4 separate regions of the Homo sapiens genome follow, and all the other regions are linked to region 2. Evidence: promoter capture Hi-C in 16 types of primary human blood cells and fetal thymus (Javierre and others, 2016). All regions are on one chromosome and are shown on one strand. Each heading gives the region's core, a stretch centred on a gene start or on the middle of the fragment in contact. The rest is flanking DNA. Distances are from core to core; before and after follow the strand shown.

The links. The method cuts DNA at HindIII sites, captures the fragments that hold promoters and counts their contacts. A CHiCAGO score of 5 or more calls a contact.
Region 1: a contact is called between a fragment that was not itself captured here and the fragment with the promoter of KMT2E-AS1 in region 2, in 1 of 17 cell types (fetal thymus). The highest score is 5.0, in fetal thymus.
Region 3: a contact is called between a fragment that was not itself captured here and the fragment with the promoter of KMT2E-AS1 in region 2, in 5 of 17 cell types (erythroblasts, neutrophils, total CD4 T cells and 2 more). The highest score is 6.4, in erythroblasts.
Region 4: a fragment that was not itself captured here is called in contact with the fragment with the promoter of KMT2E-AS1 in region 2 in 1 of 17 cell types (fetal thymus); the score reaches 5.2 in fetal thymus.

Annotation. Positions count from the first base shown.
Region 1 is chr7:105,670,450-105,674,006 of GRCh38, reverse strand. All of the region lies in intron 3 of ATXN7L1 (ataxin 7 like 1), which reads left to right. Among named protein-coding and RNA genes, the nearest start is that of EFCAB10, 91 kb to the right of the region's middle. The HindIII fragment of the contact is 4,917 bases long and covers 1-3,557 here.
Region 2 is chr7:105,012,503-105,015,802 of GRCh38, reverse strand. KMT2E-AS1 (KMT2E antisense RNA 1) reads left to right here and starts at 1,662. Exons shown (of 1, transcript NR_024586.1): 1 at 1,662-3,300. KMT2E (lysine methyltransferase 2E (inactive)) reads right to left here and starts at 1,598. Exons shown (of 27, transcript NM_182931.3): 1 at 1,268-1,598. RefSeq lists enhancers at 1,279-1,508, 1,769-1,888, 2,209-2,258, 2,050-2,589, 2,679-3,048 and silencers at 1,569-1,658, 2,009-2,058. The HindIII fragment of the contact is 4,615 bases long and covers 571-3,300 here.
Region 3 is chr7:105,538,548-105,542,006 of GRCh38, reverse strand. All of the region lies in intron 3 of RINT1 (RAD50 interactor 1), which reads right to left. Among named protein-coding and RNA genes, the nearest start is that of RINT1, 8.1 kb to the right of the region's middle. The HindIII fragment of the contact is 4,900 bases long and covers 1-3,459 here.
Region 4 is chr7:105,692,947-105,696,530 of GRCh38, reverse strand. The region is part of intron 3 of ATXN7L1 (ataxin 7 like 1); the gene reads left to right. Among named protein-coding and RNA genes, the nearest start is that of EFCAB10, 110 kb to the right of the region's middle. RefSeq lists an enhancer at 460-1,223. The HindIII fragment of the contact is 1,044 bases long and covers 922-1,965 here.

The DNA of each region.
Region 1 (3,557 bases), core at 708-3,207, 660 kb before region 2:
GGAAACTGCTTGGCACAGCTCTGCCTGCATTCGCAGCCTGTCCTATCACCTGACTTTCCTGTGTCTTCATTTCCTCCTCTGCTGAGCAAGGCTGATTCAATATCCCCCCTTACACCATGGCAGTAAGTTTAGTATCTAACTACGATGGTGACAAATGAGACAACAGGCCCAGGTTCTAGCCCAAGCTCCTCCACTTAATAGTCTTATGACTTTGGGCAAGTTTCTCAAATGCAGTCTGTCTCCATTTCCACAGCTGGGGGGAATCGTTACCTCACCAAGCGGCTGTAAGTACAGCTGGCCTGGCTCCTGGCACGGCTCCCAGTGCCAAGGTGCCAGCCCTGCCTCTCTCTCCAACTCCAGTTTACTTTTGGAAGAAGGCCCCTTGGAAATCAGGGTGTTTATAGGCAGCATCCTGACTGCAGCTACAAAAGCAGATTGAACCCACTGATAAGATAGAAACCGGCTAATGACTTGCCAAGCACCTGCCCTCAAAAGTGGGGGCTGAAGGAGACTCCATGCTGTCAAGTGAGTAAGCCAGGTGCTGGCCTAAGCCCAAGTGTGCTTACACAACCATGGCAGGCCACAAGCGACTGTGGTGCTCAAAGTCTATTGGGAGGGGGTTAGTCCCTTAAAAGCCATATTGGAAAATTCTCAACAAGTTCTTTCTAAAAATGGTGCAGGGAGCCACCTTGAGTATTTGCAGCCGGCTCAGCCATTCATGAGGCATCTGTGCTAAGGTTTTAAATACAGGACACTGATGCTGCAAGTATGAAAATATCTCCATGAATAAGCGTATGGGGAAGGGAACACTGAATTTTTACTGAAATGGGATTGCCTGAGAACCTGATGGATTTTATCTTCAGAGAGTGAGGGGAGCAAACTGGAGACACCAGGGTTCCCCGCGCCTATCAGATTTTTGGGATGCTGACAGCTGGTGTCTGCAAGCTCCCTGCTTGGCTGATCTCCAGGACTGCCCCTGGAGTTGCACCTGGATGTTTAAGGAGGCTGTGGGGAAGCAGGTGGTCTTGAAACAGTCAGCTGCTGAGGCCTTGGCCTGGACTTCCTGTGGTGGAAATGCACAAAAGTAAAAGGATTTGGCTTTTCATTTCTTTGGTACTGGGGCCCCCCAACTCTTTGTGATTGAGGTCTTAGGCAATGGTATGAGCTGCTGACTGGTACCTGCCAGCTGCCTAACACCTAAAAAGTGTTTCTTCCTCTCCCTAGGGGAGTCAGGTGCCCTGCTGAAATGCCCACAGACAGTGGGAAAGGAGAGGTCCCGCTGGCTCTTTCAGATTCCTCCTATCTGTAGCAGAATCTTCCAGGATTCCAAGGTGGTAGAGCCCAGAGTTAAGACAGGGGCTCTGAAAACATCCCCAGATCTGATGTTTTCTAGCTCTGTGACCTTAAGCAACTCATTGTATCTCTGAGCCTCAGGAATTATACCTCAAGGAAATAATTCTAAATCACTTTTTAAATCAGTTTTTTAAAAGACAAATAGTAGGTCGACAGTACGAGAATAGCTAAATAATCTACAGCACATTAATGATTGAATATTACCTAACAGTTTAAAATGGCAAGTATGTGGGAATTTGATATGTATATGCAGAATAATGTTAGTTGACAAGGAATAGTCCAAAATATCCATTGATTACAGCTTTGTTAATCAAACTTACCTGTAGAAAAGAGAAACTAGTAGTGCCTCTCTTTTTTGGGGGGGGCAGGGGACGGAGTCTCACTCTGTCGCCGAGACTGGAGTGCAGTGGCATGATCTCGGCTCACTGCAGCCTCCGCTTCCAGGGTTCAAGTGATTCTCCTGCCTCAGCCTCCCGAGTACCTGGGATTACAAGCGCCTGCCATCACACCCAGCTAATTTCTGTATTTTTAGTAGAGACCGGGTTTTACCATGTTGGTCAGGCTAGTCTCGAACTCCTGACCTCGTGTTCCACCCACCTGGGCCTCCCAAAGTGCTGGAATTACAAGCGTGAGCCACCACGCCCGGCCGTGCCTCTCTTAAGGTATTGTAAGAATGAAATGCTATAAGGTAAATCAAAGTGTTTAGAAGAGTGCCTGGCACATAAGAAAAAAAAATTCTTTTTTTTTTTTTTTTTTTTTTTTTTGAGACAGGGTCTCACTCTGTCATTCAGGCTGGAGTGCAGTGGAACAATCTCAGCTCACTGCAGCCTTGACCTCCCAGGCTCAAGCAATCCTCCCACCTCAGCCTCCTAAGTAGCTGGGACTAAAGGCACACACCTGGCTGATTGTTTTTAATTTTTTGTAGAAGCAGGGTTTCACCATGTTACCCAGCTAGTTTTGAACTCCTGAGCTCCAGCAATCCACCCGCCTCAGCCTCCCAAAGTGCGGGAATTACAGGCATGAGCCACTGTACCCACCTGAAAAATCTTAAAACTATTATTACTATTGATCAAAGGACAGAACGGGTGAGAGCAGAGGTTGCTGGCTGAAGATCATTCACTGAGGTTGTTATTGATGTATTGAATACTTAATTCTGCACGGGTGTTCTGATAGTGATTTTCTGTTTTTCCTAAAGTAGGTGAGTGGTGCTTATATTCAATATTAGCACAGTAGATTGGTTTGGTCTTTCTGTTACACGGTCTGGAAAGAAATGTGTAGCAAGAGCTATAAAGCTGCAGCCTTTCACTTTGGGAATTATACCTCAAGGAAATAATTCTGAATCACTTTTTAAATAAATTTTTTTTTTTTTTTTGAGACGGAGTCTCACTCTGTTGTCAGGCTGGAGTGCAGTGGTGTAATCCAGGCTCACTGCAACCTCCGCCTCCCGGGTTCAAGTGATTCTCCTGCCGCAGCCTCCTGAGTAGCTGAGATTACAGGCACCCGCCACCACACCCGGCTAATTTTTTTTTTTTTTTTTTTTTTTTTTTTTGAGACGTAGTCTCGCTGTCGCCCAGGCTGGAATGCAGTGGCGCCATCTTGGCTCACTGCAAGCTCTGCCTCCCGGGTTCACGCCATTCTCCTGCCTCAGCCTCCCGAGTAGCTGGGACTAACAGGCGCCCGCCACCTCGCCGGGCTAATTTTTTGTATTTTTAGTAGAGACAGGGTTTCACCGTGTTAGCCAGGATGGTCTCGATCTCCTGACCTCGTGATCCATCCGCCTCGGCCTCCCAAAGTGCTGGGATTACAGGCGTGAGCCACCGCGCCCGGCTACACCCGGCTAATTTTTGTATTTTTAGTAGAGATGGGGTTTCACCATGTTGGCTAGGGTGGTCTCAATCTCTTGACCTTGTGATCCACCCACCTTGGCCTCCCAAAGTGCTGGGATTACAGATGTCAGCCACCACGCCCGGCCAAATCAGTTTTTTTTTTTTTAAAGATAAATAGTAGGTAGACAGCAAGAGAGTAGCTAAATAATCTGCGCCATGTTAATGATTGAATATTACCTAACAGTTTAAAATAGCAAGTTTGTGGGAATTTGATACGTATATGTAGAATGTTAGCTGACAAAGAATAGTCCAAAATATCCATTGATTGCAGTTTTCTTAATAAAGCTATATGCATTAACGAAGACTAAGAAAATTTAG
Region 2 (3,300 bases), core at 413-2,912:
GGAAGGAAAAACAGCCCAGTCTTTTCATGTAAACATAATAAGCCTGTAATATGCTGCAGACAAACGCACTGCATGGGGTGTGGAGGACCCGAGCTGATTAGATTACCACAACATCAGCCTGGGGCCGCCATTTTTAGAATCTGTAAAGGACAAAAGAGGGAAATTTCAGTTTTTACTCCCCATCTCAGAAATTGAAGGAAAAAAACAGACTATTTTCCAAATAGGTATTCATGTCTCCAGCCTCGAGTTGAATGCACCTCACTTAATTCTCTCCAAGGTCTCCAGAACTCCAAACACCTTACCTTATTCACATCTCTAAAAAGGGAACAAAATAGGCAAAACGAGGTTTACTCTAGAGCTAACTCTAGCGATTCCTCTTTGACTTTAAATTGTATCGTTCTTAAGACAGAGCCCAGCAAGGACGGATCTATACGGAACTAAGGCCAGTAGAAGAGAGCACTCTGGATTGTTTTTTTCTCACCCCCACCCCGTTTAGCACAGTGAACCGTTTGTTTCTCATCTGTGTCTGCTGCCATAGAATTTGTGCCAATCCCTTGGTCAAAATAAGCTTTTCTGAAATGAGCCATATTGTAGATCCTAAGGCTCCGGCACAGTAAAGGACGGCGGTAATGCAAAAGGAGTGGGGGAGGAGACTGAGAAGGCTGGGTACTGGGGTGACCACTTCAGGGGCGGGTTTACCCTCTCCAGGAGAGGATGAGGAGCTAGCTGTCTCGCTCTCCCACAAAGAGAGATGCCCAGGGCGTTCTTCTTACCCCCTTCGTATTCATGTGCACATTATACCAGAGACTGCCCGTCAAGAAATGGAAGAAGAAAATGGGGCCTATATGGCTTTTCAGCACCTGAACAAGACGCGGTTGAGAAAAGGGAGCGCTGGCAGCTCCTGGGACCACTTCGACACAAACCCTACTAACAGTCACAAGCCTCCGTCTTCACTCAAGCGGCCTTAACCCGCTGCCAATGAGGAGTGCGCCCCCTCCCTAACTCCCCCACTCTCAAGGGGGTTTAACTGCCAGTTACCCCTTTCCCAACCCTAAAACCCGCCATAATGCTCCATTTCTAGGGTCAGGGAGAAGAAAGAATAAATTCGATTTAAGCAAGCAACGTCTTGCGCCGGCAAAGACACCTGAGAGTCAACGTCGGCTCCCCCAGCTTAAGGATAAAGATGAGAGACCTCCCTCCCCCTTGAAACACAAGTACCCCAACCCCGCAAGCCCCAGGAACTCCCATGGAGACGACAGGCACTAACCTGTGATGTTCACACACGAGACACCCGAACCCCGTTATGTGCTCGACCCCCAAGGAGTCTCTCCGCACCTCCGCGAACAGGCGACCCCCCGACAGCAGCCACTGCGGACACAGGACCCGGCTCCACACACCCCCTCCCCAAACAGCAGCGCGCAGCCTCTTCACCAGGAACCGAGGAGTAGGGGAGGGGGCAGCCAGGCAGTCAACAGGAACGCAGAGACGACGGCGAGGCTGCTCGGAGTGTCTATGCCCACTCTGTTGCCGCTCCCGAACTCCGGCACGGTCTCCGACTCGGCCCCCTGCGCCCGCTCAGTGTCACTGCCTCTCGCTCTGGGAAAATGGCGGCGGCGGCGGCGGCGGCCGCGGCGGCGGCGGCGGCGGCGGCAAGTGCACGGGGTACGCCCGTCCCGCTCCGCAGGGGCAGAGGGGGAGGGGATGAAGCTGCCCGGCGCCATTTTGCTTGTGGGCTGCCGCCCGCCGTTGCCTCTCCGCGGAGGCTCGAAGATAGCAAACTGGAGGCGGTGAGGGGGACGGAATCTCTGTCTTTCTGACAACAGATGCATTCAACAATCCACCGAAGGTTTGAGGAAGTGTCGGTATTCGGTGGGACTGGTTCTTTCCCCCTTTCCCCCAGTGGCCCTCAAGTCTGGATATAGGTGAGCTTGGGCATGCCAGTATTGGGTGCACGAACAAGGACAGCAGGGCTTGGGAACGAACTCCCTCCCGTCACCCTCCGAAAGCGATACACCTTCTCCCCCTCCCAAACAACCCCAGTCCCGTCTCCCCGTTCCTCTCCCCCTCCTCCCCCAGCCCAGTCTGGCCTCCAGCGCTGGGTGAACCCGGTTGGGGTGTCACTCGACGCCCACTAGGGGCTGAGGAGGCTCCAGTGCGCAGGCTCCGGGCACCGGATAAAAGCGGAGCTGGCGAGTCTAGTGCTGTCTCGATGGAGGAGCAAGAAACGGAAGAGGTCGGGGGGAGAAGCAGCCGGAAAAATGCAGCCACCGTCAACGCCGCCTCCCTGCCACCGTGCTTCGGGGTAAAAAGCTGCCGTTGCCGTCGGTGCAGTTGCCGTCGCTGCCTCCTATACTTCTCTTGGCCTCGGGGAAGGATTTCCCCACCGGTGGGACAATGTGCGGGGAGGGGAGTGGGAATTCCTTTATATGGCGGTGATTAAACGAGGGAGGGACAGACAGTGATCTCGAAGAAAAAAGGGGGAGACCAAAGAATAAAAGAAGGGTTTCCCCACTAAAATGACACGGCGATTCCGGCTCTTGTTTTGGGGGTCTTTCCCCGAAATGGTTTCCGTCTTCCCCTTGCCCCGCAGCGACCCAGAGCGCTGGGGGAAGCGGAGTGGGGAGAGGCAGAGGCGGTCTCGGCAGCCAATCAGCGCCTGATGTGTCCTGTCGGGCGCGTCGTGGTTGGCTGGCGATGACCTCATCCTGCAGCAGCGGGTGGGGCCAAAGCCGTAGGGGGAGGCTGTTGCAAAGGTAGAGAGGGAGAAGTGACGATGGTGATCGTTGCTGCCGCGGCCGATATGGAACCCAAGCAGTGGCGAAGGGAATCGCAAGGCTCTTCCCTGACCATTTTCTACTGTCCCTGCGCGAGGTGAGGGCCCCGGCTCGGCCTCTGCAAAACTTTGGGGCGCTGGCGCGGAGGAGGAGACAGGATTTCTCCCGTGACTTTTGTAACTGCGTCAGGGCAAGATGGCGCTGGGTCTCTTTGGGGCGCGGGGGGAGAGGCACGTCCACCGCCGCAGCGCATGTGACCGGGCTGCATTCCTGTGGGGTTTGGCTCCGACCCAGGCCGGGGCGGGGGAGGGGACAGGGCTTGGGCGGAGGAGACTGTGGTGCGGTCGGCGTTGGCGGCCTGAAGAGGAAGAGATGACTGTTGGAAAGCGTTCCCCTCCCCCATACGGCAGAACAGCTGCGGCTCCCAGGGGAAAGCCCCCGCAGGACAGTCCTCGTGGGGTGTGACGGCTGTTGGTGGAGAAGGTTTGGCGCCCTATTTTCTTATCTGCCTTTCTCCCCGCAAAGT
Region 3 (3,459 bases), core at 379-2,878, 530 kb before region 2:
CATAACATGCTGTTTTATATACACACAAATAGCAGGAAGAAGTATGCCTTTGTGTTGAAAACAATAAGTGAAACAAAAAAATAAAAATAAAATAAAAAATATATGCATACATACATATACACATACATGTAGAGAAAGGGACTTAACTCACTGGCTCCAGTAAGCATCTAGAGGTCTGCCTCCATAGGCTCAGCAGAGGATCCAGCTAGAGAAAACTTATTTTATTTTTTTGAGACAGAGTTTCGTTCTGTCACCCAGGCTGGAGTGCAGTGGCGTGATCTCAGCTCACTGCAACCTCCACCTCCCGGGGTCAAGTGATTCTCCTGCCTCAGCCTCCTAAATAGCAGGAATTATAGACACGTGCCATCACGCTCGGCTAATTTTTGTATTTTTAGTAGAGACGGGGTTTCACCACGTTGGTCAGGCTGATCTCGAACTCCTGACCTCATGATCCGCCCACCCCAGCCTCCCAGAGTGCTGGGATTACAGGCATAAGCCACCGTGCCAGGCCGAGAAAACTTATTAATACATGCTCTACCTGCTAAATATTTTCCTTCAAAGCAAAGGAAGGGCCGGGCACGGTGGCTCACACCTGTAATCCCAGCAGTTTGGGAGGCCAAGACAGGCGGATCATTTGAGGTCAGGAGTTCAAGACCAGCCTGGCCAACATGATGAAACCCCATCTCTACTAAAAATACAAAAACTAGCCAGGTTTGGTGGCACACACCTTGTAATCCCAGCTCTAGAGAGGCCAAGGCAAGAATCACTTGAACCGGGAGGAGGTTGCAGTGAGCTGAGACTGCACCACCGCACTCCATCCAGCCTGGGTGACAGAGCAAGACTCCTCAAAGAAGAAAAAAAAAAATGCAAGCTGGGTGCGGTGACTCACACCTGTAATCCCAGCACTTTGGGAGGCCAAGGTGGGTGGATCACAAGGTCAGGAGTTCAAGACCAGCCTGGCCAAGATGGCAAAATCTTGTCTCTACTAAAAAATACAAAAAAATTAGCTGAGCATGGTGGCACATACCTGTAATCCCAGCACTTTGGGAGGCTGAGGCAGAGAATTTCTTAAACCCGGGAGGCAGAGGTTGCAGTGGGCCGAGACTGCGCCACTGCCATCTAGCCTGGGTGACAGAGCGAGACTCCATATCAAAAAAAAAAAAAAAAAGGAAACAAAGATCTCATTCTAACAGGCTGAGCATCTATATTTTGCCAACATACCCCAGGTGATTCTGAATTAAGGCCAGGCTAAGAAGCACTGACTTGATGAGATGATATCCAGGCAATGCCTTTAGAAAGGGCATTTAGTGGCCAGGTGCAGTGGCTCACACCTGTAATCCCAGCACTTTGGGAGGCCAAGGAGGGCAGGTCACTGGAGGTCAGGAGTTCGAGACCAGCCTAGCCAACATGGTGAAACCCTGTCTCTACTAAAAATACAAAAATTCAGCCGGGCACAGTGTCTCATGCCTGTAATCCTAGCACTTTGGGAGGCAGAAGCTGGTGGATCACTTGAGGTAAGGAGTTTGAGACCACACTTGCCAACATGGTGAAACCCCGTCTCTAATAAAAATACAAAAACTAGCCGGGTGTGGTAGTATGAGCCTGTAATCCCAGCTACTCAAGAGGCTGAGGCAGGAGAATTGGTGAAACCAGGAGGCGGAGGTTACAGTGAGCTGAGATCGCTCCACTGCACTCCAGCCTGGGCGACAGAGTGAGACTCTGTCTCAAAAAATAAAATAAAATAAATACAAATACAAAAATGAGCTGAGGATGGTGGCGCATGCCTGTAATCCCAGCTATTCAGGAGGCTGAGGCAGGAGAATCACTTGAAACCCGGAAGGCAGAGGTAGCAGTGAGCTGAGATCACACCACCACACTCCAGCCTGGGCGACAGAGGAAGACTCCATCTCAAAAAAAAAAAAAAAAAGAAAATGGCATTTATTAAGTGAATTTTTCTTATAGTATGTGGGAAAACATATACAAATATTAGTCATCAGCAAAATACAAAGAACATTATAGAATAATTTCAATCAACAGTGATTAGATACTTATTCTGTACCAGGCACTGCGCTAGAAATATGCAGATAAACAAGACACAGCATCCGTCCTTCAGGTCACTTTGGTATATAAGAGTGTTGTAAGCAAATAATTTCAACAGTGGGATTAATGCAATAAAATAGACAGGCTATATTTAATGAATGGGCACATTAATCACCTAAAGATCTTGTTGTAATACAGATTCTGATACAGTAAGTCTGAAGTAAGACTGAGATTCTGCATTTCTACAAAGCTCCCAATCTGCCTAAACTAACATGGTATCAGCAAGAGTGGGAAAGATGGGCCGGGAGCAGTGACTCACGCCTGTAATCCCAGCACTTTGGAAGGCCAAGATCCACTTTCGGGCAGATCACCTGAGGTTGGGAGTTTGAGACCAACCTGACCAACATGGAGAAACCCCATCTCTACCAAAAATACAAAATTAGCCGAGCGTGGTGGCACATGCCTATAATCCCAGCTACTTGGGAGCCTGAGGCGGGAGAATCACTCGAACCCAGGAGGTGGAGGTTGCAGTGAGCCAAGATTGTGCCATTGCACTCCAGCCTGGGCAACAAGAGTGAAACTCCAACTCAAAAAAAAAAAAAAAAAAAAAAGAGTGGGAAAGATGGGATGGATACCAGAGATGTTGAGGCTGAACTCAGATGACTTGGTGATGGGATAGAGGATGAGAGGATGATAAGAAGGAATCTAGGACTCCTAGGCTTCAGGTCTGGGTGACAGGCAAATAGTGGTGCCATTATCTAACCAAGACAGACAAGCCTCTAAAAAATGGATCAGTATAGTTTTGGACATGCTGAATTTAAGGTTCAATAAGGAACTTCAGTAAAAGTTTCTGTGGTCATTAGGGAAACAAACCTGATTACAGTGGGTAAAAGATGAATGACAAAAAGTAGAGATAGATAACAAAGGTTACTTTCTGAAGCCTGACAATCAAAGGAAAGAACTAATACCTGCTAAAAGATCATGGGTTTTTTTGTTTCTTTGTTAAGGTTTTATGGAAAAGACCTGTCTATGTGCACATGCTGAAGGGATAGGACTGGTTGACGAACACAGGGTAAAATTATAAGAGTGACACAAGTTTACTGAGGTGGCAGAGAGAACCTGGGGTATAAGGTCTGCCTTCGACTGATCCTTTGCTGAATGAAGAGGTTAAAAATGACTGCACATAAATTTGTCGATTGTGGGATAGACTATTCAACAGACTGAATTCAATGCTACTAAATTCATGCTAGGCTTCTATTTTTTTCTGCTAGGGAAAAGGAAAGGGCAGAATGGACAGGTTGGGTAGATGTCTCAAACAGAATCTGAAAGAACAGTTGAGGGGAGTAGCAGAGGAGCTGACGTTCCCATGGAAGGACTGCTGGTGGGGCTGAAGACTCAGCCAGGGTGGCAGACCACACA
Region 4 (3,584 bases), core at 194-2,693, 680 kb before region 2:
TATGCCAATGCTTGTCAAATCATGGGTCCTTCTTTTTTGGCTTAAAAAAAGTGGGGGTGGATGGGTGGGGCTCTATGATCAAAGAAGTCACATGTTACGTGGAAATATTCTCCTCACTTTATGTCTTGCAAGCAAACGAGTTTCCGTGCCAAGACTGTTCTGATTCACCTAGCACCCATATTCTTTCAGGCAGCATGGATGCAAATGTCCTCTGGTTACCAAAACCACCTGAAGAAACCCCCTTGAGAGTGAGTATTCACTAGCAGTGGGAAGCACTACATATACCTCCCGCCAAGCTGCAGAGCATTTCCAGTCAACAGGAGCACATAGATTTCATTAGTCTTCATGACCTTCATAACAGTCAACGTGAAGTCCACCTTGACACCCAACTTCCCTGACCTTCGGGTGTATGTTTTCTTGTGTTGTACTTTCAGGGAGAAAGAAGTGTGACAGGCAGATTTATAAGGGCGTGGCAGAACGTTCTGTAACTTCCTAACCATCAGCTCCTGACAGGCTCCCCTCTGCATTCTACATTCAATATCTTTGATCTTGGCCCCCCAAGCCTTCACTTCCTGACAAACACCTCTATTCATCCCTACCTGCAAACCTCCTGGCCATCTGCAGTAACCCACCACCCTGTCCCTCAGAGCAAATGCCCAACGCCTGCAGTGAACCTGCTCAGCCTGTATCACATAAAAGTAGTATCAGGCCAGATTAAGCTGTGCGTGTGTCCATTTGGCATGGGCAAAGGAACATGACAGTGGAAACCTACATTTGGTCCAATATTTTCAGTGACCTCTGTTGCAAAGAACTCAGCAAAGGCCTAACTTTGAAACACCTTTTAGAGAAGCGATCCCCCAAACCATGTGCTAAGCTAGATCCCCTCTACATGTGCAGTGGTGCACCGTGGATATACAAGCTTCATAATGTACAGCTGTCAGGCCTGCTGGGACATTCCACTTCGCTGCAACTTAGACTAGTATTTGGTAAGGAACCAGGGGTTGGCATTTAGGTGAACTGATCAAATCAAAGGATGGGGTGCAAACTGGATCAAGACGATTGTTTTCCATTGAAATAGTAGCTCTGGAGTGCAGATGTCCGAAGCTCCCCCCACACTGTGGAAAGGAACCCTTCTGTGTTAGGCACATTCACTATGAAACACTAGAAAAGCCATGAAGACAGGGAATGTTGAGAAAATTGAGGGCGATGTTGTGCTTTTATTTTATTTAATGTTTATTTATTTTGAGACGGAGTCTTGCTCTGTCACCCAGGCTGGAGCGCAGTGGTGTGATCTCGGCTCACTGCAACCTCTGCCTCCTGGATTCAAGCAATTCTCCTGCCTCAGCCTCCCGAGTAGCTGGGACTACAGGCACCGGCCACCACGCCCGGCTAATTTTTGTATTTTTAGTAGAGATGCAATGGTGTGATCTCGGCTCACTGCAACCTCCGCCTCCCAGATTCAAGCAATTCTCCTGCCTCAGCCTCCTGAGTAGCTGGGACTACAGGCACCGGCCACCACGCCCAACTAATTTTTGTATTTTTTGGAGAGACAGGTTTCAGCATGTTGGCTGGGCTGGTTTCGAACTCCTGACCTCAGGCAATCCACCGCCTCAGCCTTCCAAAGTGCTGGGATTACAGGTGTGAGCCACCGTGCCTGGCTGAGGTTGTGCTTTTAGAGTCAAACAACTCCATTGGCCTTTTTAGTTTTATCATTGTTTTCTCTGGAAGCGCCATAGAGGGAAGCAAGGAGGGCCGGGCCAGGAGTTGGAAGACCTAGGGCTGTTTGTGGTTTGCAGTGTGGCCCTGGCCAAATCACATAGCCTCTCCAAATCCCAGTTTACTTGTCTGTGAAAATGGGAATAATAAAGTCTGCCCCTTTTAAGCTGCTTTGTGAATAATGAAGCTGCACACCAGCGTACATTATCGGCCATGAGGCTGAGACCCAGGATTGGACATCAGAAAGCTTTCCTGGGTGTGTAACTTGGGAAAGTCACAGGTTTCTCTGAACCCTGTTTCCCTCCTTCATAATGGGGGTAATAATAGCCGCCCTTCCCACCTCACAGGATCAAATAATGTAATGTGCATGAAAGAGACATAAACTGTGGGGTTTTAACCCACAGAAATCCTGGGGCTACTTTAACAGTTGCTGACCCCAAGGACAGGGCTGATTGAAGACTCACTTCTCAGCCAGGTGCAGTGGCTCACACCTGTACTCCCAGCACTTTGGGAGGCCAAGGCAGGTGGATTGCCTGAGATCAGGAGATCGAGACCAGCCTGGCCAACATGGTGAAACCATCTCTACTAAAAATATAAAAATTAGCCAGGTGCAGTGGCATGTGCCTGTAGACCCAGATACTGGGGAGGCTGAGGCAGGAGAATTGCTTGAACCCGGGAGGCGGAGGTTGCAGTGAGCCAAGATGGCACCACTGCACTCCAGCCTAGGCAACAGAGCGAGACTCTGCCTTAAAAAAAAAAAAAAAGGCTCACTTCTCCCTCAGGACCTGAAACTTCTCTCTTGCTGCATCCCTTCCACCCTCCTCCTTTCCCCACCCCAGACTTCTTGCTCCCGACTTCTTCCTCCCCTGCTCCTTCCTTGGTCTTGGATGTGCTAAGTTGCCTTTGCTCTTCTCCTGTGATGTATCAGGCAACTGCTGCATTTCACTCCAGGGTGGCTCCATTTCAGATCCCAGTGAAACAATTTCTATATATAGTTGGTAATAAAATGTGGGTTACTTTGAGGGGAAAGAGAAAGCCACTATGTGGGTTCCTGTTCACCACCATGGCGCTGGTGGCCCCGTAACCAGAAGAGCAACCTTTGCTCTCCAAAACAAAGGTGAAGCTGGCCCACAGTCACAGTGGCTTTTCCAAACAGCCTGTTTCTACTTACTCATTACTTTCCCCAAAACCTGTGGAGTGGGAAGGGGGTGACATTTTATTCTTCAAATTAGATGGATGGATGGATGGATGGATGGATGGATGGATGGATGGATGGATGGGGCATTAGATTTAAGTCCACCCAGCAATTTAAAATTTCTCACTCGGTCAGACACAGTAGCTCAAGCCTGTAACCCCAGCACTTTGGAGGCCCAAGCGGGAGGACTGCCTGAGGCCAGGAGTTCAGGACTAGCTTGGGCAACATAGTGAGATTCTGTCTCTACAAAAACTTTAAAAATTAGCCAGGCATGGTGGCAGACACCTATAGTCCCAGCTACTTGGGAGGCTGAGGCAGAAGGATTCCTTGAGCCCAGGAGTTCAAGGCTGCAGTGAGCTATGATGGCACCACTGCACTCCAGCCTGGGCAAGAGAGAAACCTTGTCTCTATTTAAAACAAAAACAAAAAAAATTTCTCACTCTTACGTCCACACCCAGGTTCTCTTGGAATTGTTTTCTGAACTCCTCAGGTAACTAAAATTTTATTTGGTTAATTCTCTTGGTCCTACAGTGAGATACTGCTTGATGCACTCTGGGAAAAATGGAAAAGCCTGTTAAAATAAGCAATTTAAGAAGTGTTTCTGCTGGGCATGACGGCTCATGCTTGTAATCCCAGTGCTTTGGAAGGCCAAAGCAGGAGGATCGCTTGAGGC